Linked DNA regions of Homo sapiens: all the other regions are linked to region 4. Evidence: promoter capture Hi-C in 16 types of primary human blood cells and fetal thymus (Javierre and others, 2016). All regions are on one chromosome and are shown on one strand. Each heading gives the region's core, a stretch centred on a gene start or on the middle of the fragment in contact. The rest is flanking DNA. Distances are from core to core; before and after follow the strand shown.

Region 1 (2,700 bases), core at 148-2,647, 910 kb before region 4:
CTTTTTCTCCTGTTCATTTCAATTCATTGTTATACTCTGGTCATGTTTTACAGAAGTCAAATCAGCATATGTTTCATTGTGAAGTCTAAGCAGGTGTTTATAGCTTACTTCTCTTTCTGCCTTTTAGTTTAATAAAGCAATAATTAATCCAACAATAATCTTATGCCCAAGATCCATTAGCATTACTTGGAAATACTGCAGTGCTGTCCAGTAGAACTTTCTGCATAGCGCAAGTTTTGTGTATCTGTGCTCTTCAATGTAGTAGGTACTAACCTGTAAATTTGAGACGATTAGCCTAGATGATTTTTAAATTCCTTTTAAACTATAAATTACCTGGTTGAAATTTTATTAAGATCTCACTATGCCAGGCACTTTATATTTGTCTTGTTTTCTCAGGTAAAGTATTCTCCTAAGGAAGCAGACGCAGTTACCAAGTGACTTGTCCGAAATTAAAACTATTACGTGGCTGGGATTTGAACCCAAGTCCTTTGCTTAATCCCAAACTGTAGTTCTCACTTTTTCCTGTTCTAGTATATTTCAGAAGTAGAGCACAGTAGCAATTTATGCCAGTGATTTGTAAGATTTATAAAGTAAACAATGAAAAAACCTCAGATTTTTATTTGCCCGCCTCATTGCACTAAATCCAATGAGGTCCTCTTTATAAGTCCCAAATTCCTCTTTTTCAACTATACATCAGTGTTAGCATTTATGCATTGTGTATCACTGTTTTTCCTTAGGGTGCTTTCTCTTTGCTTTCATGTGACTGTGCTCTGTCAGGTTTTAAGACTCAGCTGAAGTTGCTACTCTTTCATAAAGCATTCCCCAGATAACTCTCTTTTCCATTTGTGAATTTATCTCTCTGATCTTACCTTTGAATCTTATTCACATCCAGTTGTATTCCATCTATTTGGGAGTTTATAGTGCTGTAGTGTAACTGTACATATATGAGATGAGTGTTTTCTTTTTAATTGTAAAATATATAAAACCACCAAACAAATGTATAGTGGATTATTATAAAACAACCTTGTAATCACCAACCAAGTCAAGAAATAGAACTTTGCCAACTACCCCGGAATGTCTCCACGTGCTCAACTCAGTGTCGATCCCCTCCCTCCAAAAGTAACCAGTATTCTTTTTTATTTTTTTGAGATAGGAGTCTGGTCTTGTCGCCCAGGCTGGAGTGCAGTGGTGCAATCTCGGCTCGCTGCAACCTCCGCCTCCTGAGTTCAAGTGAATCTCCTGCCTTAGCCTCCTGGGTAGCTGGGATTACAGGCATGCACCACCATGCCCAGCTAATTTTTGTATTTTTAGTAGAGACGGGTTTTCACCATGTTGGTCTGGCTGGTCTCAAACTCCTGACCTCGTGATTCCCCCCACCTCGACCTCCCAAAGTGCTGGGATTACAGGCGTTAGCCACCTCGCCCGGCCCCAGTATTCTTACTCTAATCACTTTCTTTATAGTTTTAGCACCCAACTCTGCATTCCCAAATACCATAGACCTTGCTCATTATTAAAAATTTGGTAAGTCTTTGAAGTCTCTCAGTATGCATGTTTCCCCTCCATCTTTTTATGTCAACTAAGTTGTAGCTGTTGAAGGACCCTAGAGTGTGTGACCTGTAGAGTTTCCAACTGTCTGAATTTTGCTGATTGTATACTCATGGTGCAGTTTACTGTGTTCCTTTTTTCTTGCATTCCTGGAAAAATTGATGATTAGATCCAGAAACTTAATCAGACTCCTGTTAGATCCCTTAGGCAAGGCTATAGATGGTGTTAATGTTCTTTGGTCAGAAGGTCTAAAGTCTGGTTGTCTCTCTTTGTAGTGTTAGTGGCTGCTGATATTCAATGCCTGGGTCCTTTCATTCATTGGTGATACTCTAATTCTGTCATTTCTTTCTTACAAATTGGTATTTTTGTATTGGAATTCTTGATTCATCTCATATGGACACCCAGTGGCACGTATCATATAGGATAATTACTGGATTTTTGCCCTTTTTGTGATATAATTCACATATTGTACATTTCACCCATTGAAAGTATGATTCCGTGGGGTTTGTGGGTTTTTTTAAGAATATTCACAGAGGTGTGCATCAATTTTTAGAAGTCTTCACTACACCAAAAAGAAACCCCCAACCCCGCAGTCATTTCTCCCTATTTTTCCCCCAGCCTATTAATAGACATTTCATTAATGGAATCCTACAGTATGTTGTCCTTTGTGACTGACTTCTTTCACTTACCGTGTTTTCAAGGCTCATCTATGTTGTTGTATTTATTCAGTAGGTTGTTTACTTTTCTTGCTGTACTACCCATTATTCCACTGTATGGCTAGACCACATTATATATATATGTTCATCAGTTGGTGGGCATTTGGATTGTTAGCCACTTTTTGGCTAATATGAATAGTGCTCTTAAGAACATTTGTGTACAAGTTTTTGTGTAGACTTGTGTTTTTGGTTTCTCTTGGGCTTATACCCAGGAGTAGAATTGCTGGATCATATGGTAACTCTAGATTCCAATAATATTGGAAACTTGGATAGCTGCCTTTTTTTTTTTTTTTTTTTTTTTTGAGACTAGGTCTCCCTCTGACACCCGGGCTGGAGTGCAGTGGCACAATCATGGCTCACTGCAGCATCAACCTCCTGGGTTCAAGTGATTCCCCCACCTTAGCCTCCCAAGTAGCTGGAATTACAGGCACATGCCACC
Region 2 (2,700 bases), core at 31-2,530, 800 kb before region 4:
CCCTCCCAGACAGGGCGGCTGGCCGGGCAGAGGGGCTCCTCACCTCCCAGTAGGAGCGGCTGGGCAGAGGCGCCCCTCACCTCCCGGACGGGGCAGCTGGCCGGGTGGGGGGCTGACCCCCCCCACTGCCCTCCCGGACGGGGCGGCTGGCCGGGCAGAGGGGATCCTCACTTCCCAGTAGGGGCGGTCGGGCAGAGGCGCCCCCCACCCCCCGGACGGGGCGGCTGGCCGGGCAGAGGGGCTCCTCACTTCCCAGTAGGGGCAGCCGGGCAGAGGCGCCCCTCACCTCCCGGACGGGGCGGCTGGCGGGCGGGGGGCTGACCCCCCCACCGCCCTCCCAGACGGGGCGGCTGGCCGGGCAGAGGGGCTCCCCACCTCCCAGCAGGGGTGGCTGGGCAGAGGCGCCCCCCACCCCCCGGACGGGCGGCCGGCCGGGGGGGCTAACCCCCCCCACCTCCCTCCCGGACGGGGTGGCTGGCCGGGCAGAGGGGCTCCTCACTTCCCAGTAGGGGTGGCCGGGCAGAGGCGCCCCTCACCTCCCGGACGGGGTGGCTGGCCGGGCGGGGGGGCTGACCCCCCCACCTCCCTCCCGGACGGGGTGGCTGGCCTGGCGGGGGCTGACCCCCACCTCCCTCCCGGACGGGGTGGCTGCCGGGCGGAGACGCTCCTCACTTCCCAGACAGGGTGGCTGCCGGGCGTAGGGGCTCCTCACTTCTCAGACGGGGCGGCTGCCGGGCGGAGGGGCTCCTCACTTCTCAGACGGGGCAGTTGCCAGGCGGAGGGTCTCCTCACTTCTCAGATGGGGCGGCCGGGCAGAGATGCTCCTCACCTCCCAGACGGGGTCGCGGCCGGATGCTCTCACATCCCAGACGGGGCCGCGGGGCAGAGGCGCTCCCCACATCTCAGGCGATGGGCGGCCGGGCAGAGACGCTCCTTACTTCCTAGATGGGATGGTGGCCGGGAAGAGGTGCTCCTCACTTCCTAGATGGGATGGCGGCCGGGCAGAGACGCCCCTCACTTCCCAGACGGGATGGCGGCCGGGAAGAGGCACTCCTCACTTTCCAGACTGGGCAGCCAGGCAGAGGGGCTCCTCACGTCCCAGACGATGGGTGGCCAGGCAGAGATGCTCCTCACTTCCCAGAAGGGGTGGCGGCCGGGCAGAGGCTGCAATCTCGGCACTTTGGGAGGCCAAGGCAGGCGGCTGGGAGGTGGAGGTTGTAGCGAGCCGAGATCACGCCACTGCACTCCAGCCTGGGCACCATTGAGCACTGAGTGAACCAGACTCCGTCTGCAATCCCGGCACCTCGGGAGGCCGAGGCTGGCGGATCACTCGCGGTTAGGAGCTGGAGACCAGCCCGGCCAACACAGCGAAACCCCGTCTCCACCAAAAAAGTAAGAAAACCAGTCAGGCGTGGTGGCGCGCTACAGGCACTCGGCAGGCTGAGGCAGGAGAATCAGGCAGGGAGGTTGCAGTGAGCCGAGATGGCAGCAGTACAGTCCAGCTTCGGCTGGGCATCAGAGGGAGACCGTGGAAAGAGAGGGAGGGGGAGACCGTGGGCTGTGGGGAGAGGGGGAGGGGGAGGGGGAGGGGGAGGGGGAGGGGGAGAGGGAGAGGGAGAGGGAGAGCCAAACCCTATTTCTTGAGGGAAGCAAACCTATTATCTTTAGCCTAAAATCCCAAAATGTTGTATATCAAGAAAATGTGATATTATTTGGTTATAAAAATAAAGTATTGACACATGCTACAACATGAATGAACCTTGAAAACATTATGCTAAGTGAAAGAAGCCAATCACAGGAGACCACATACTATATGATTCCATTCATATGAAAATCCCAAATAAGAAAAGTTACAGAGGCCAAGCACGGTGGCTCACACCTGTAATCCCAGCACTTTGGGAGGCCGAAGCAGGTGGATCACTTTAGCTCAGGAGTTCAAGACCAGCCTGGGCAACTTGGTGAAACCCTGTCTCTACAAAAAATACAAAAATTAGCTGGGCATGATGGCACATGCCTGTAGTCCCAGCTACCTGGGAGGCTGAGGCAGGAGGATCACCTCAGCCCAGGAGGTAGGGCCTGCAGTGAGCTGTGATCGTGCTACTGCACTCCAGCCTGGGCAACAGAGTGAGATCCTGTCTCAAAACAAACAAACAGACAAACAAAAAACAATAAAAAAGGAACAGCTATACAAACAGAAAGTAGGTAAGTGGCTGCTTAGGGCTGGGGTGGGAGTTGGGAAGAAAGGATATAGAGTGATAGCTAAAGGATATCGGGTTTCTTTTTATCTTCTTTTTCTGGGGATGAAGTTCTTTTTGAGATGATAGGTGCTCTAAAATCAATTGTGAGGATTGCACATTAATATGAATATACAAAAAAACATGGAAGTGGCCACTTTAAGTAAGTAAATTGTATGGTATATGAATTTTATCTCAATAAAGCTGTTTTTGAAAATGGCTTTGCATGCCTTTATGGCTTTGCATGATCCAGCCCCTGCCTGCATTTCCAGCTTTATCTTGTGCCATTCTTCACCCTCCCTCTGCAAGATCAAGTCACCTTTCTATACTTCAAAAATGCAAGATTTTTTTTTCCTTTTTGAGACGGAGTTTCACTCTCGTTGCCCAGGCTGGAGTGCAATGGCACGATCTCGGCTCACTGCAACCTCCGCCTCCAGGGTTCAAGCGATTTTCCTGCCTCAGCCTC
Region 3 (2,700 bases), core at 112-2,611, 880 kb before region 4:
TATCCATACAAGGAACTAATAAAATGTTTATTGACAACATAAATCCAAGGCTCTAACATGTCTTAAGTTAATGTGAATCAGAAGTAACTTTGAGGTGGGGCGCAGTGGCTCATGCCTGTAATCCCAGCACTTTGGGAGGCCAAGGCAGGCGGATAACCTGAGGTCAGGAGTTCAACACAACCCTGGTCAACATGGTGAAACCCTGTCTCTACTAAAAATACAAAAATTAGCCGGGTGTGGTGGTGCATGCCTGTAATCCCAGCTACTCGGGAGGCTGAGGCAAGAGAATCGCTTGAACCCAGGAGGCAGAGGTTGCAGAGAGCCCGAGATCGCACCACTGCACTCCAGCCTGGGCGACAGAGCAAGATTCCTTAACAACAACAAAAACAGAAGTAACTTTCAGTCCCTGGAAAATGTGAGATCTCTAGTATAATTGACCCTTTATCCAAGTAATTTCATGTATCATTCAGGAGTGCAGGCTCTGGGATCAAATGGTCCATGCTCTAGTCTCAGCCCTACCATTTAATAACAGAATGGCATTGGGTGAATTACTTGATCTCATGCTTTTTCTTCCCTACAAAGTGTTAGTAGTAGTACCTGTTCATCATAGAGTTGTGTAAGGCTTGGATGGTCAAGGAAGGCTAGATAGAATAGCATTAAAGAGAATCCTAATTGAGGGGTAGATGTGGGATATTGGAATGATGAAGGCCAATCCAGGTGTGTAACTGGAACATATTAAATACTGCATGCCCGCTGTGTCCAGAATTCTCTTAAGTTGTTCATTCTAATTTCTGTTTTAAGATTTTCTTGTCTAACCTCTTGCATCACTCCCATAAAAAGCACAAAGAATAGTTGCAGTACCCATTTAAAATTTTTTATTTTTTGAGACAAGTTCTCACTGTCAGCCAAGCTAGAGTACAGTACAGTGGTGTGATTTTTGGCTTACTATAGCCTCCGCCTCCCAGGCTCAAGCGATCATCCAACCTCAGCCTCCTGAGTAGCTGGGACTACAGGCATGTGCCACCATGCCCGGCTAATTTTGGGGGGTTTTTTTGTGGTTTTTTTGTTTGTTTTGTTTTGTTTTGTTTTGTTGTTGTTCTTGTGTTTGGTAGAACGGGGTTTTGATACGTTGCCCAGGGTGGTTTCAAACTCCTAGGCTCAAGCAATCCGCCCACCTTGGCCTGCAAAAGTGCTAGGATTACAGGTGTGAGCCACCATGCCCGGCCCCTTCAAAAATATTTAAGCATAAGCTGTTCTTTAATAAGGCTGCTCGCCAGCTTCCCTCTCCTTACCAGCAATTTCCCTGCACCTTCCACTTGAAAGAAAATGAAAGCTAATTGCAATAACTTTGATAAAGTAGAATTAGGATAGAAAAGTCGCTTCTTTTAAAATAGATTTTCAGGCCGGGTACGGTGGCTTATGCCTGTAATCCCAGCACTTTGGGAGTTTGAGGCCAAGGTGGGCGGGTCACCTGAGGTGAGGAGTTCGAGAACAGCCTGACCAACATGGCGAAACCCTGTCTCTACTAAAAAATACAAAAAAATTAGCTGGGCGTTGTGGTGCGCGCCTGTAGTCCCAGCTACTCAGGAGGCTGAGGCAGGAGAGAATCGCTTGAGCCTGGGAGGCAGAGGTTGCAGTGAGCCGAGATAGCGCCACTGCACTCCAGCCTAGGCGACAGAGCAAGACTCCATCTCAAAAAAAAAAAAATTTTTTTTTAATTAAAAATAAAACATTTTCAGCCTAAATGTAACATAAATATTTTTTGTATCACAGTTAAGAGATTTGTCTCACTGGTGCTGACACCAGTAAGGGCTTGTTCTATTAACATAATAAATTGGATGGGTTTTAACTTTACAAAGTGAGTAATTCCATCTAACCAAACTCATCTAAGTCCATTGTTTATTCCTTCACCCCTGCCCCCTGCACTTTTCAATATAATAAATTGTATGTTTTTATTTTAGCTGTAGCATATGGCCTGCCTATTCCTTCCCCTCAATACCACCTCCCAAAACAATGTAGGGCCTCACTGACAAAATATTTTTATTATATTGCCATGAAATTAAGAGGCTTACTTAGACCTTTCAAATGTTCAGACACAGTTGAGGAGGCCAGTTTTCTATAGTCTTTCACGTCAGCCTGTTAGTGACTGCTTTATGGATGAATTCAGCCATGGATTTTCATAATGTCGTGATGTCCTGTCAATAGGAGAAAGCACTATCCTCTATAAACTTGACAGTGTAATGGCATATACAAACTTTTTTTTAAACTTTATTACCAGTAGAGAGAGAGGCTGCTTACACCAGAGATTTTTTAATTGGCAGAATCACCTGGAAAGATTTTTAAAATGCAAGTTTCTGCATTTAAATAGCTGCTTTAAACTGAATTAATACTTGTAAGTGCAGCTCGTATGAAGAAGAAAGACGGCCTGGTAGGTGATGGTATGCAGCTTTTGGCTGCTCCTTGAGCAGATTAAGTGGGTTATTATCTTGGAGCTACTCATTACACAGTGTACGACTAAAGTAGGTTAAAGTTAAGGAGATGCTGTAGATCTACTTTTTAGAACTTGGGGGTTAAAATGTCTTTGGTTGAGCTTGGGCCCAGAGCATACAGGAATTTAGTACATAATAAGATGAGTTTTCAATGTGATTGAAAACTCAGCGGTTGTGCCTTGGGAAAAGGGTGATGCTCATGGAAGGGAGG
Region 4 (2,700 bases), core at 58-2,557:
AGTCAGGGTAGCAGGACATAGACGGAAAGGAAGACAGAAAGACAATCAGTGCTTGCACAACTCAAGACTGGGCAAGGGGTATTTCAAAAATACATGTGTGTATATATATATATATATATATATATATATATATATATATGTATACATATTTTTTTTTTTTGAGATTGTGTCTTGCTCTGTCGCACAGGCTGTAGTACAGTGGCATGATTTCGGCTCACTGCAACATCTGCCTCCTGGGTTCAAGCAATTCTCCTGCCTAAGCCTCCCGAGTAGCTGGGATCACAGGCGCCTGCTACCATCCCTGGCTAATTTTGGTATTTTTAGTAGAGACGGGGTTTTGCCATATTGGCCAGGCTGGTCTCGAACTCCTGACTTCAAGTGATCCGCCCACCTCGGCCTCCCAAAGTGCTAGGATTACAGGCGTGAGCCTCAAAGATATTTTTCAAAGGAAATGCTGAGTGTTTTGCCATGTTAGCTACCCCTTCCTATCGCCAGTGGGAAATCAATTTACAATATTAATTTCTCCCTATGCACAGACATAAGAGGACTGCTGAAGGTGAGTTGGGAGAAATGTCGAATCTGCTCTAAGGAGGATGGGGAAGGTGTGTGATGAAGGTTGCCGAGGGGTCACCATCAGGTCAATGTGTACTCACCCTGAAAAGCATAGCTTTCGTGGTAAATCTCATAGGCTTTTCTGTGGGCATCACTGAGGGTCTGGAGTTGTGACGCTCTTGATTCCTGGTGGGGAAGCTCCTTGATCACTTCCTCCAAGTCACTGAAGGTGAACCAGATCCCAACTAGGTCCCCGAAGGAGTGGAAGGCGAATGTGGCATAGTCGGCGAAGAGGTCAGCAAAGGCTTCGGTTCTCCGGAGGGTGCTGGCAGGGAGGGTCTGGTGGTGCAGGATGACCATGGGCTGAAGCCGTGCAGTCTTGAGGGCCTTGAGGAGTCGCCGGTAGCACTGCACTGTTTTCTCGTCTGGATTCTGGGTGCTTCCTGCTGGGAGGAGCTGTGCCCATGACAGAAATACCTTATAATGGGTGATCTGACTGGCATGGAGACTGCTGAAGTATTCTGGCAGGAAAGTGGGCAGTGGCTGGTGACAAACATACATGTCTTTGTCCCCTGCTACAAAGTTAGAACTCTGGTCTCCCAGGAGACCACTCAGGTTGTGCAGCAAGTCATTGGTTAGAGGACCAGCGGTGGAAATGAAATTTCTATCAGACTCCCAGTCTGACCCCCAGCATGAAAAACTTAGCAGGGCAATAAAGACTACATGCCAAGACAGCTCCATTTTCTAGGAACTGTTAGGAGGTATGTGGAACCCTTACTTTATAACTGCAACTGAGGTTGTAAAATACTAAGTGATAATTAAGACTTAATATTTAACTGGGTTATCTATGATCACAAAATCAGTACACGGTTCACTAATGCAATATTTAAAAATGTAAAGATCAGGGCCGGGCGTGGTGGCTCACACCTGTAATTCCAGCACTTTGGGAGGCCGAGGTGGGCGGATCACGAGGTCAGGAGATCGAGACCGTCCTAGCTAACATGGTGAAACCCCATCTCTACTAAAAATACAAAAAATTAGCCAGGCATCGTGGCATGCGCCTGTAGTCCCGGCTACTCAGGAGGCTGAGGCAGGAGAATCACTTGAACCCAGGAGGCGGAGGTTGCAGGAGCCAAGATCATGCCACTGCACTCCAGCCTGGGCAACAGAATGAGACTCCATCTTAAAAAAAAAAAAAAAAAAAAAAGGTAAAGACCAACACAAAAACCTCAGACTTCCTATACAAGTTAAGCAGAGGAACCCGGAAAATGTCTGAAGAAAACGATTACCAATTTTTTTTGTTTTTTTTGTTTTTTGGTGACCGGGTCTCACTCTGTTGCCCAGGTGGGAGTGCAGTGGTGCGATCACAGCTTCCTGCAGCCTTGACTTCCTGGGCTCAAGTGATCCTCCCATCTCAGCATCCTGGGTAGGTGGGACCATAGGTGTGCGCCACCACGACTGGCTAATTTTTTGTATTTTTAGTAGAGATGGAGTTTTGCCATGTCACCCAGGCTGGTCTTGAACTCCTGGGCTCAAGCAATCCTCTTGCCTCAGCCTCCTAAAGTGTTGGGATTACAGGTGTGAGCCAGCGCACCCAGCCACACATTATTTTAAAATTTGTTTACATAATACAAAAATAAGTATTTTGCCCCAAATTTTCTCTTTAAAAATATGCTGAACATATTTTGTAAGAGATTCAAACAATATGGAAACATCTATGAAAAACTTGCAAATTCCTTCACCCTCCCCCCTCCTCTTCCTATAATAAGTATCTTCAGCAATATGTATCTTTCCAGTTTTCTTTCTCTGCATATCTTAATGGTTATACAGGAGTCAGAATGCCTGGGTTTAAATCTCACCTGACAAAAATTACTTAACTTTGTGCCTCTATTTTGTCACCTGTAGAATGTGGATAATTCATCATAGGCTGTGGGGATTAAATGGGTCTTTCTTGTAGCATGTATACAACAGTACAGCTCAGGGATCATTATTATTACGTAAATACAAATGGAAACGTGTATAACATTTAAAATATAGAACAATTTAACATATATGGAATTATGCCATATGTATTTTCAGCCTTTTCTTCACTTAATAGCTCTTAGAGTTCTGCCTGTATCAGAACATATAGACCCACCTCTAACAGAT
Region 5 (2,700 bases), core at 39-2,538, 740 kb before region 4:
TGGATAGTATTATTTCTTTTCTAATCTCTGTGCTTTTTTAAAAATATGTATTACAAGATACCATGAAGCAGTCTGTTCATTTTTTTTTTCTGTTTAAAACTGGCTAGGGCTTCCAGTAAAATATTGAATAGGAGTTGCTTATCTCAGGGGGACAGCATTTAGTCTTTTACTGTTAAGTGTGATGTTAGCTGTAGGTTTTTTCGTAGATGCTCTTTATCAGATTGAGAAAATTCCCTTTTGTTCCTGCTTTGCTGAGAGTTTTTATTATGAATGGATGTTGAATTTTGTCAAATCCTTTTTCTGTTTAAATTGATATGATTGTTGTTTTCTGCTTAAATTGATATGATTTATTTTCTTTAGATTTTTAATATGTTGATTGCATTGACTGATTTTTGGATATATAACCAGCTTTGCATTCTCAAGATAAACTCCACTTCTTTGTGGTGCAATTTGTATTTCTGTGTGTGTGTGTGTGTGTGTGTGTGTGTGTGTGTATGTATGTGTATTGCTGTATTTGATATGCTAATAGTTTGTTGAGGACTTCAGTGTCTATGTTCATGTGGGATGTTGGTCTGTAATTTTCTTTTCTCCTGCTTTGGTTTTGGTATCAGAGTAATGTTGGCCTTATAATGTGAGTCAGAAAGTATTTTGTTCTCTTTTATTTTCTTTGAGAGAGTGTAAAATTTTTTTTTTTTTAACCGTTTGATAGAATTTGCCTTTGAAACTTTCTGAGCCTGGCATTCTCATTTTATTGAGGTGGCAATTCCTTCTAGGGTCCAGGATGTAAGCAGAAGTCTCAGTTCCAGTACCTTGTCTCATGTATACCCATATCCCTGAGAGGTCATTCAAAACATTACAACCTCTGTAGTGATTTGGATTGATGGAGTAAATCTAAATATAAAGGATACAGAAGGAAGCTTGTGCGTTTAGGTTATATAGCAGAGAGATTGGTAATCTCATCAGAAAGATAGGCAGCTTCCAAGTCCCAGGGCCTCGTAAGCAGAGGCACAGTTATGGATGATGATATCTGAGTGATATTGTGCTTCTGGAAGCCTAGTTTCTGGGTGTAGACTTATTTATATTTATTATTATGAGACTGGGGCATTCTTGGACATAGCCTAATCTGGATGCATGCCAGAGACCACTTTCCCTGGGCTGGGTGTACCTTATCATCTCAGAGTTATATAATTCACATTATGACTGCTAGGCTAAAATACATGGTATTGTCAGACGTAAACAGACTTTTCTTCCATCATTCTTGTTCTCTTCAGTCTAGCACAGCATAGTCAGTTTTGCAAACAGTTTTATAAGTCAAACTAACAGACTTTCAGCAGTAAAAGGCTTACCCTATAAAATCCCAGCTCCCAGTGCCCAGCTGTTAGGGCCTATAGCCAAAGCTGATCATCCCCTGGTATTTTTCAGTCACCTTCTATGCTCGCTTTTGCCTTTCAGTATACTCTTTGTTTCTGTTACCCAGGAATCTCCTTTTTATTATTTCAAATTCAGCGGTGTATTTTGACAGCATTGTCATATTTGATCAGGTATTTCTGTGTGTTTTGGGACAAGGAGGGCCTGTGTCATGTTAGTTTGCCGTATGGTTGGAAGTCACTTTCAGTTTTGTCTTACTTGACCTTTCTTAAAGTTTAGGAAGCCAACAACAAAGCTTTTGAGAACTGTTTAAAAGTTAAGCATATTAAATGTATGTGTATTTTCTTTTATTCAACAAATATAATTTTTAAACATTTACTGTGATCCAGATACAGAAATATCAAGAATAAAACATGGTTACTGCCTTAGTAATCTATGGGATTAATAGATAAGGGAGTAGACAACAATAACATTTTGTGATAAATGCTCTCATAGGAGGCAGAACACAAGTTTGATGGAAACTCATAGGAGGTACCTGTAATTCAGACAGATTAAGTCAGGAAAATGTTTCCAGACAAGGTGATACCTCACATGAATCCTGAAAGACAAGTGAGAATAAACCAGGTGAATAAGCTTAATTAATAAGTTAGGTAAAAAGATACTTGAGGCAGAATTAGTAGAGGTGATGATGTTTAAATGCACTTTTGAAACTTGTAGGTAGTTTGGTAAGGTTGGGTATAGCAGTAGAGGGTTGGGAATGGGAAAAGATGAGAAGGACTTTGGTATGTGGGTATTTTAAGACTAATGTGAACCAGACATCTTAAGAGGATTTCATAATATTCTCCTTCTGTTTTATTCATATAATTTTTATTGTAATTGTTAATAAATACATTTCTCAAAAATTTCAAGGATACAGATTACTTGTAATGCTTCAGAGATACTGAAGAATAACATACACAGAAGTTTTCACCTAAACATTTATTTAAATTTGAATTTTAAAAAGTTAAACCAGAATTAAAGCAATGACAATGAAAATTTGAAAACGATTTTGCAATATATGCATCTGTACTTATTTATACCATAAATATACAATTAGTATAGGTTGACCCTGTCAGAGTGATTTAAAATTACTATATGATTAACTTATATTTTCAAATCAAATTCTAGAAAATAGATTTTTGGGATTTATGTCCAATGCTCAATTTTGGTAGTTCGAGTTTGTCTATTAATCTTTATCTATTTTAAGATCTTCTCGTTTCAGTTTTCATATCAAGCACCTCTCAGATTAGCTCCAAGCCTGTTTAACTTTGTTAAGGGACTTTTATAAAAGTG
Region 6 (2,700 bases), core at 30-2,529, 840 kb before region 4:
AAGTGTAATTGCTGAGGATTTGGTTCTAAATTAGTGAATAGAGTTGTTTGGTTTTAATTCTCAAGTCAAAAATGCTAGCACTAATCTTACCTTGATGCTTCGGCCACTGTACTTCATATGAGAGGTCGAAAACTCTACAACAAGAAAAACAATAACTGGATATTCTTAGTAGTAGAAAGAAAACAGTCTCAAGCCAGAGTCTGGGGATGGAGTAATACAGATGCTAAGGGGTCTGAGGAAAAGTTGTAGAAATTGGAGGTTTCCCCTGTGGAATTCACACAGAGGTGGAATCATCACACAAAACTTCAGGCTGCTGCCACTAGCAGGGGTTGCTGTTTTATATTTATATCTCTATTCTGACAGAAAACCTGAGATCTCTGGACCAGAGAGCAGACCATTTATCACTCACAGAACATTGTAATGCCAGTTCCCCACAACCCAGTTCCTCACAGGGCAACGTGATGAGAGCCGGGTGTTGACCTGCACAGCTGGCAGAGCTGCATCACAGGAGGGAGCTCTGGAATGATGAGACTCAGGTGGTATATTGGGTGGTGGCACTTTAGCCCATCTTTCCCTCCAGAGAAGGAGAGAGCACTTTACTATGAATTGTAAGCAAATGCCTCCAGGAGAAAGATGACTCTATGTTTTATTACCCTAGAATATAAGCAAACAGCTTTTGGGAAAATCAGCCTCTAAATTTCTCTGGAGCAATACACTAACTTCGGAGGCGTTTCTGACATTCAGTCATCTTTTAACTTAGTTTCCTAGTGTTTTTTGCTTAGAAAGCCTGAACTGTGCAGAAATGTGAAAATATTCTTGTATAAGTGTCTCCCAACAGTTGTTTAAACTAGATCGACCATAAACTCTGAAAGGTGAGTGTGAGGAAGACTCACCTAGGGAACGAGATGGGACTTACTAGGTAGTATAAAACTTACAAGTTGTTCTCTTCTTACCAAAAAGTCAGAATGATCCCCAAAACCCCATGAACCACCACCACCACCACTTCTGCATAGTTTGGACTTTCTAAAGCTGAAGCCAAAAGCTCCAGTGTCTCCAGGGTCAAAACAGTTCACAGAAATGGATGATGTGGGACAGGAAGACACAGCAGTAAATCGAGATCATATGCCCAACTAAAGGGGCATCATTACCCAGCTCGCAGTGATGTTATCCAACCCAGATAGATAGTCCAGCCCTGCTACATCTTCCAAAAGAAGCCAGAGAGCTGCAGATTTTTTTTTTTTGAGACAGGGTCTCGCTCTGTCGCCCAGGCTGGAGTATAGTGGCATGATCTCAGCTCGCTGCAACCTCCACCTCCTGGGTTCAAGCAATTCTCCTGCCTCAGCCTCCCGAGAAGCTGGGATTACAGGCACCTGCCATCATGCCCGGCTAATTTTTTGTGTATTTTTTATTTTTTAGTAGACACGGGGTTTCACTATGTTGGCTAGGCTGGTCTCGAACACTTGACCTCGTGATCCACCGGCCTCGGCCTCCCAAAGTGCTGGGATTACAGGTGTGAGCCACCGCGCCCAACCCAAGCTGCAGGTTTTATGTGAAATCTCCTTCCCCCACCCTTGCTTATTTATTTAAAATTTTTATATTTTTAATTTTTTGTATAGACAGGGTCTTACTGTATTGCCCAGGCTGGTCTCAAACTCCTAGGCTCAAACAATCCTCCCTTCTTGGCTTCCCAAAGTTCTGGGATTCCAGGTGTGAGCCACTGGGCCTGGCCTCTCCTCCCTTGTTTTTCAATGTTGTGAGGGTCAAACAAATGTCTGTAGGTCCATTTCAGCCTCAGGCTGTCATTCTGAAGTTTCACACGGAGAGAAAAAGACTTCTAAGATTTAACACAGTAGAAAAGCCAATCCCAGGTGAAAAACAAGTCACCTAAGAAGAGGACCCCAACAGGCAACAGGAGGGGGCACAGGCATTCCCCTTGGACACAGCTGGCCATGGCACCTCCCCTTCATTCTTAATGCATTTACTCAACAATTATTTACTGAGTGCCTGCTGAGTGGCCAACACTGTCCCAGAAGATGGCAATTTATAGTTGTGGGCAGGAAAGACAGATCTTTGCTCTTTGCTCCCAGAGGTTGCATTCTAGAGGTTGAGGTTTTCTATTGAAAAGATGTTAGAAGTTAATCTAGAAATACAACTGAATATAATTTATAGTTGGGTACATAATGGATAGCATCCTGAATTTTTTAAAAAAACGCTTTCAAGTATTCTTATAAATATTTGAATATGTATTATCCAGTATTGGTCAGGAATTATGTGGGGTAAAGACTTTTGGTGGGAATGTAGAGGCAAGATCTTTCTGGTAGGTAATTTGGTAACATGTGTCAAAGCCTTTTAAAAATGTGTAGAGACCACTCTGAGCAACATAGCGAGACCCCATCTCTACAAAAAATGTTAAAAGTAGCCAGGTGTGGTGCCATGCACCTGTACTCCCAGCTACTCAGGAGGCTGTGGTGGAGGATCACTTAAGCCTGGAATATTGAGGCTGCAGCGAGCCATGTTTGCACCACTGCACTCCAGCATGGGCAACAGAGCGAGACCCTATCTCCAAAAAAGTAAATAAAATAAAATAAGTACAGAGTTCCAATTAAAAATGGCAGATTGAATGTACAAGCTTTTCTCCAATCCCTCCACAAATCACACTAAAATCACAGTAAAAGAATTAAAAAACATGTAAATAAGGAC
Region 7 (2,700 bases), core at 147-2,646, 900 kb before region 4:
TAAATAATATTGGAAAATTGGGAATTTGCAACAATTTGAAAAAACTTGTAGGTGAGCTGTAGCCTAGAAATATTGAAAAAATTGGATATGTCATGAATGCATAAACTATATATAGATATTAGTCTATTTTATCATTTACTGCCATAAAATATACATAAATCTATTTTTAAAAGATAAAAATTTTAAAAAGTTAGGCACACAAACAGACAATATGTGGCTCTATTCGCAGTTAAGAGAAAATGTAAATAAACAAATGTAAAGGTACATAAAATTAATTTTAATAATACGTAACTGTACTGCTGTGATAATTTTGTAGCCACCTCCTGTTGCTATTGCAGTGAGCTCACATGTTATGAGTATCCACGTAAAATGCTGTGTGACACCTGTCATCTCTGAACAGTTTGTCTCTCCAGTAAATTACATATTGCGGTAAAAGAGGTTCTGGCATATTTTTACCGTATTTAGTGCGATACTGGAAACTTGGATTAATACCATGGGACCCATACAAAGTGCCTCTAGTGATGCCAGAAGTGCTCCCAAGAAGCAGATGAAAGTTGTGATGTTACAAAAAAAAGTTGAATTGTTTGATATGTACTGTAGATTGAGGTCTGTAGCTACAGTTGCCCATTTCAAGATAAATGAATCCAGTGTAAGGTTCAGTGTGAAAGAAGAAAAAGACATTTGTGAAGTCATCGCTGCAGCTATACCAGCAGGCACAAAAACCTTGCACTTTATCTCATATTGAAAATGAAGCTTTTATGTGAATGCAGGATTGCTGTAAGAAAGGCATACCTATGGACTCTAATATGATTGGAGAGAAGCTTAAAGCAAAGGGAAGGTGAAGGATCTAAAGCCAGAGAATTTAATGCCAGCGAAAGACAGAAATTGTGGTGTATTTCTGTAAAGTTACACCAGGTGTTGCCTGCCTCTCCTGCCTCCTCTTTTGTGTCTTCCAACCTGAGACAGTAAGACCAACCCCTCTTCCTCAGCCTACTCTGTATGGAGACCTTTATGATGATCCACTTCCACTTAATACTAGTAAATACATTTTCTCTTCCTTATGATTTTCTTAATAGTTTCTTTAGCTTACTGTGTTGTAAAAATACAGTATATGATACATATACAAAATATGTGTTGATTAACTGTTTATGTTACCAGTAAGGCTTCAGCGGTAAGCAGGTTCTGATCAACGATAGTTAAGTCTTAGGGGAGTACTTGGATTTTCGACTGCATGGGGATCGGCACCCCTAGGCCCTGCGTTGTTCAGAGGTCAGCTGTAAATTATTTGAAGTTTCTATAAAATAAAAAGATACCAAAAAAGTGAGGGTCTTATTTCTTCCAAATCCAATGATTTAGCATGTTATTGTTTTACTATACAAAATTATATAAATTTCATTTAAGTAAAAAATTGAAAATGAAAAATCATAAATCATTATAAAATATTTAGTTGTTATATAAAATCGTAATGTAATATCCATATTGTTTATGACATATTCTTAAGCACAGAGAATGAAAAGTGTTATTTTAAGGGGAACATTAGAATTTAGAAGATATGCCTCTATGGCTTTAAAGTATTCTGCATATTTAATTACAGTAGAACTATATATAGACCACACAACAACTTTATAAATCTAGATTACCCATTTGTTAGGATTTTATTTACTTACTGCTTCTGAAGACAACCAAATGTGATCTTCACTTTTAATAAAAACAGAAACCCTGCCACACCTAAGGGTTGATTGCACGTTGATAGCTTTTAAACATTTCATCTTTGGTATTAGAAACAGTAGTTTAAGCAGTCATGAGACCTCTATGGTTTGTCATATGATTTTGATTATTAATGAAGTATGGTTATAAGGTAACTGGTTGAAACCCTTTGATCTAGAGTGCCGTATCATTTAAAAGCTCGTTTCTACCACTGTGGCCCAACAGTTATGTTTATGAAAACTGCACTTTTCATGTCTTCTGAAAGAAAGCTTTGGAATATTAAGAAAGATATTACGTAGTTGAATTCCGTCCTTAAATTGTGGGACCAGCTTAACAGTTGTATTTGCCAGGAATTTAATTTGTTTTTAAGATAATCCCGAATCATTTATAATTCAGAATTTTGAATAAATTTACCCTTGGTCTTTTAACTTTATTTTCATAATTGAGACATTGTATTTGAAAAATTATATCTTGTCATTGGAAAAGTAATGAGAATGTCAGTGATGAGAAACTTATAACTTTGGATTTTTCTTAATAATGAAGAATATATTATACGTTTATGGCATTTCTCAGGCAAGTACTGTAGTGGTAAGAGATTGGAAAAAAAAGTGCTTATCATTTCAGGTTTTGAGATCACCATTGAACACCCACACACAGATGTGGTGAAATGTACCCAGTTAGTAAGAGGTAGGTGATCCTTGAAACTTTTAAGATAAGTATTAATGCTTTTTATTATCTGTAATTGATTTGGGTGCTATTTTGTTTTTCTAGCCTTTTGTTAGGTTTCATTAAAATTAGGGAGAAATGTCATTTTTTAAGCATTACTTTTTAGTGTTCTACATCTACTTCTATTTGTGATTCTACCTGGTATGTTAGCTTCCTTTAAACATAGGTAAGAATCTCATTTCACTAAAACTCCGGAGGGCTTCCAAGTATTAGGACTCTATCCATCCCCCATTGAGCTTTGCTAGTCCCATTTCAGTCAAGTGTGGG

What was found. Contacts are between HindIII fragments. The CHiCAGO score rates a contact against its expected background, and 5 or more counts as called.
Region 1: a fragment that was not itself captured here is called in contact with the fragment with the promoter of LCT in region 4 in 1 of 17 cell types (erythroblasts); the score reaches 7.5 in erythroblasts.
Region 2: a fragment that was not itself captured here is called in contact with the fragment with the promoter of LCT in region 4 in 1 of 17 cell types (naive CD8 T cells); the score reaches 5.2 in naive CD8 T cells.
Region 3: a fragment that was not itself captured here is called in contact with the fragment with the promoter of LCT in region 4 in 4 of 17 cell types (erythroblasts, naive CD8 T cells, activated CD4 T cells and 1 more); the score reaches 7.1 in erythroblasts.
Region 5: a fragment that was not itself captured here is called in contact with the fragment with the promoter of LCT in region 4 in 1 of 17 cell types (naive CD8 T cells); the score reaches 5.9 in naive CD8 T cells.
Region 6: a fragment that was not itself captured here is called in contact with the fragment with the promoter of LCT in region 4 in 12 of 17 cell types (erythroblasts, naive CD8 T cells, megakaryocytes and 9 more); the score reaches 11.9 in erythroblasts.
Region 7: a contact is called between a fragment that was not itself captured here and the fragment with the promoter of LCT in region 4, in 6 of 17 cell types (erythroblasts, fetal thymus, total CD4 T cells and 3 more). The highest score is 12.5, in erythroblasts.

The regions. Positions count from the first base shown.
Region 1 is chr2:134,923,321-134,926,020 of GRCh38, forward strand. All of the region lies in intron 2 of CCNT2 (cyclin T2), which reads left to right. Among named protein-coding and RNA genes, the nearest start is that of CCNT2, 5.8 kb to the left of the region's middle. The HindIII fragment of the contact is 4,940 bases long and covers 1-2,700 here.
Region 2 is chr2:135,033,258-135,035,957 of GRCh38, forward strand. The region is part of intron 2 of MAP3K19 (mitogen-activated protein kinase kinase kinase 19); the gene reads right to left. Among named protein-coding and RNA genes, the nearest start is that of MAP3K19, 13 kb to the right of the region's middle. The HindIII fragment of the contact is 6,241 bases long and covers 1-2,700 here.
Region 3 is chr2:134,959,300-134,961,999 of GRCh38, forward strand. CCNT2 (cyclin T2) reads left to right here. Exons shown (of 9, transcript NM_058241.3): 9 at 1-43. Among named protein-coding and RNA genes, the nearest start is that of CCNT2, 42 kb to the left of the region's middle. The HindIII fragment of the contact is 2,736 bases long and covers 1-2,700 here.
Region 4 is chr2:135,835,877-135,838,576 of GRCh38, forward strand. LCT (lactase) reads right to left here and starts at 1,308. Exons shown (of 17, transcript NM_002299.4): 1 at 654-1,308. The coding sequence starts at 1,293. The HindIII fragment of the contact is 13,164 bases long and covers 1-2,700 here.
Region 5 is chr2:135,098,973-135,101,672 of GRCh38, forward strand. All of the region lies in intron 5 of RAB3GAP1 (RAB3 GTPase activating protein catalytic subunit 1), which reads left to right. Among named protein-coding and RNA genes, the nearest start is that of SNORA40B, 36 kb to the right of the region's middle. The HindIII fragment of the contact is 746 bases long and covers 916-1,661 here.
Region 6 is chr2:134,991,447-134,994,146 of GRCh38, forward strand. MAP3K19 (mitogen-activated protein kinase kinase kinase 19) reads right to left here. Exons shown (of 13, transcript NM_025052.5): 9 at 91-134. Among named protein-coding and RNA genes, the nearest start is that of MAP3K19, 55 kb to the right of the region's middle. The HindIII fragment of the contact is 2,696 bases long and covers 1-2,627 here.
Region 7 is chr2:134,940,281-134,942,980 of GRCh38, forward strand. It overlaps CCNT2 (cyclin T2), which reads left to right. Exons shown (of 9, transcript NM_058241.3): 5 at 2,332-2,394. Among named protein-coding and RNA genes, the nearest start is that of CCNT2, 23 kb to the left of the region's middle. The HindIII fragment of the contact is 1,155 bases long and covers 820-1,974 here.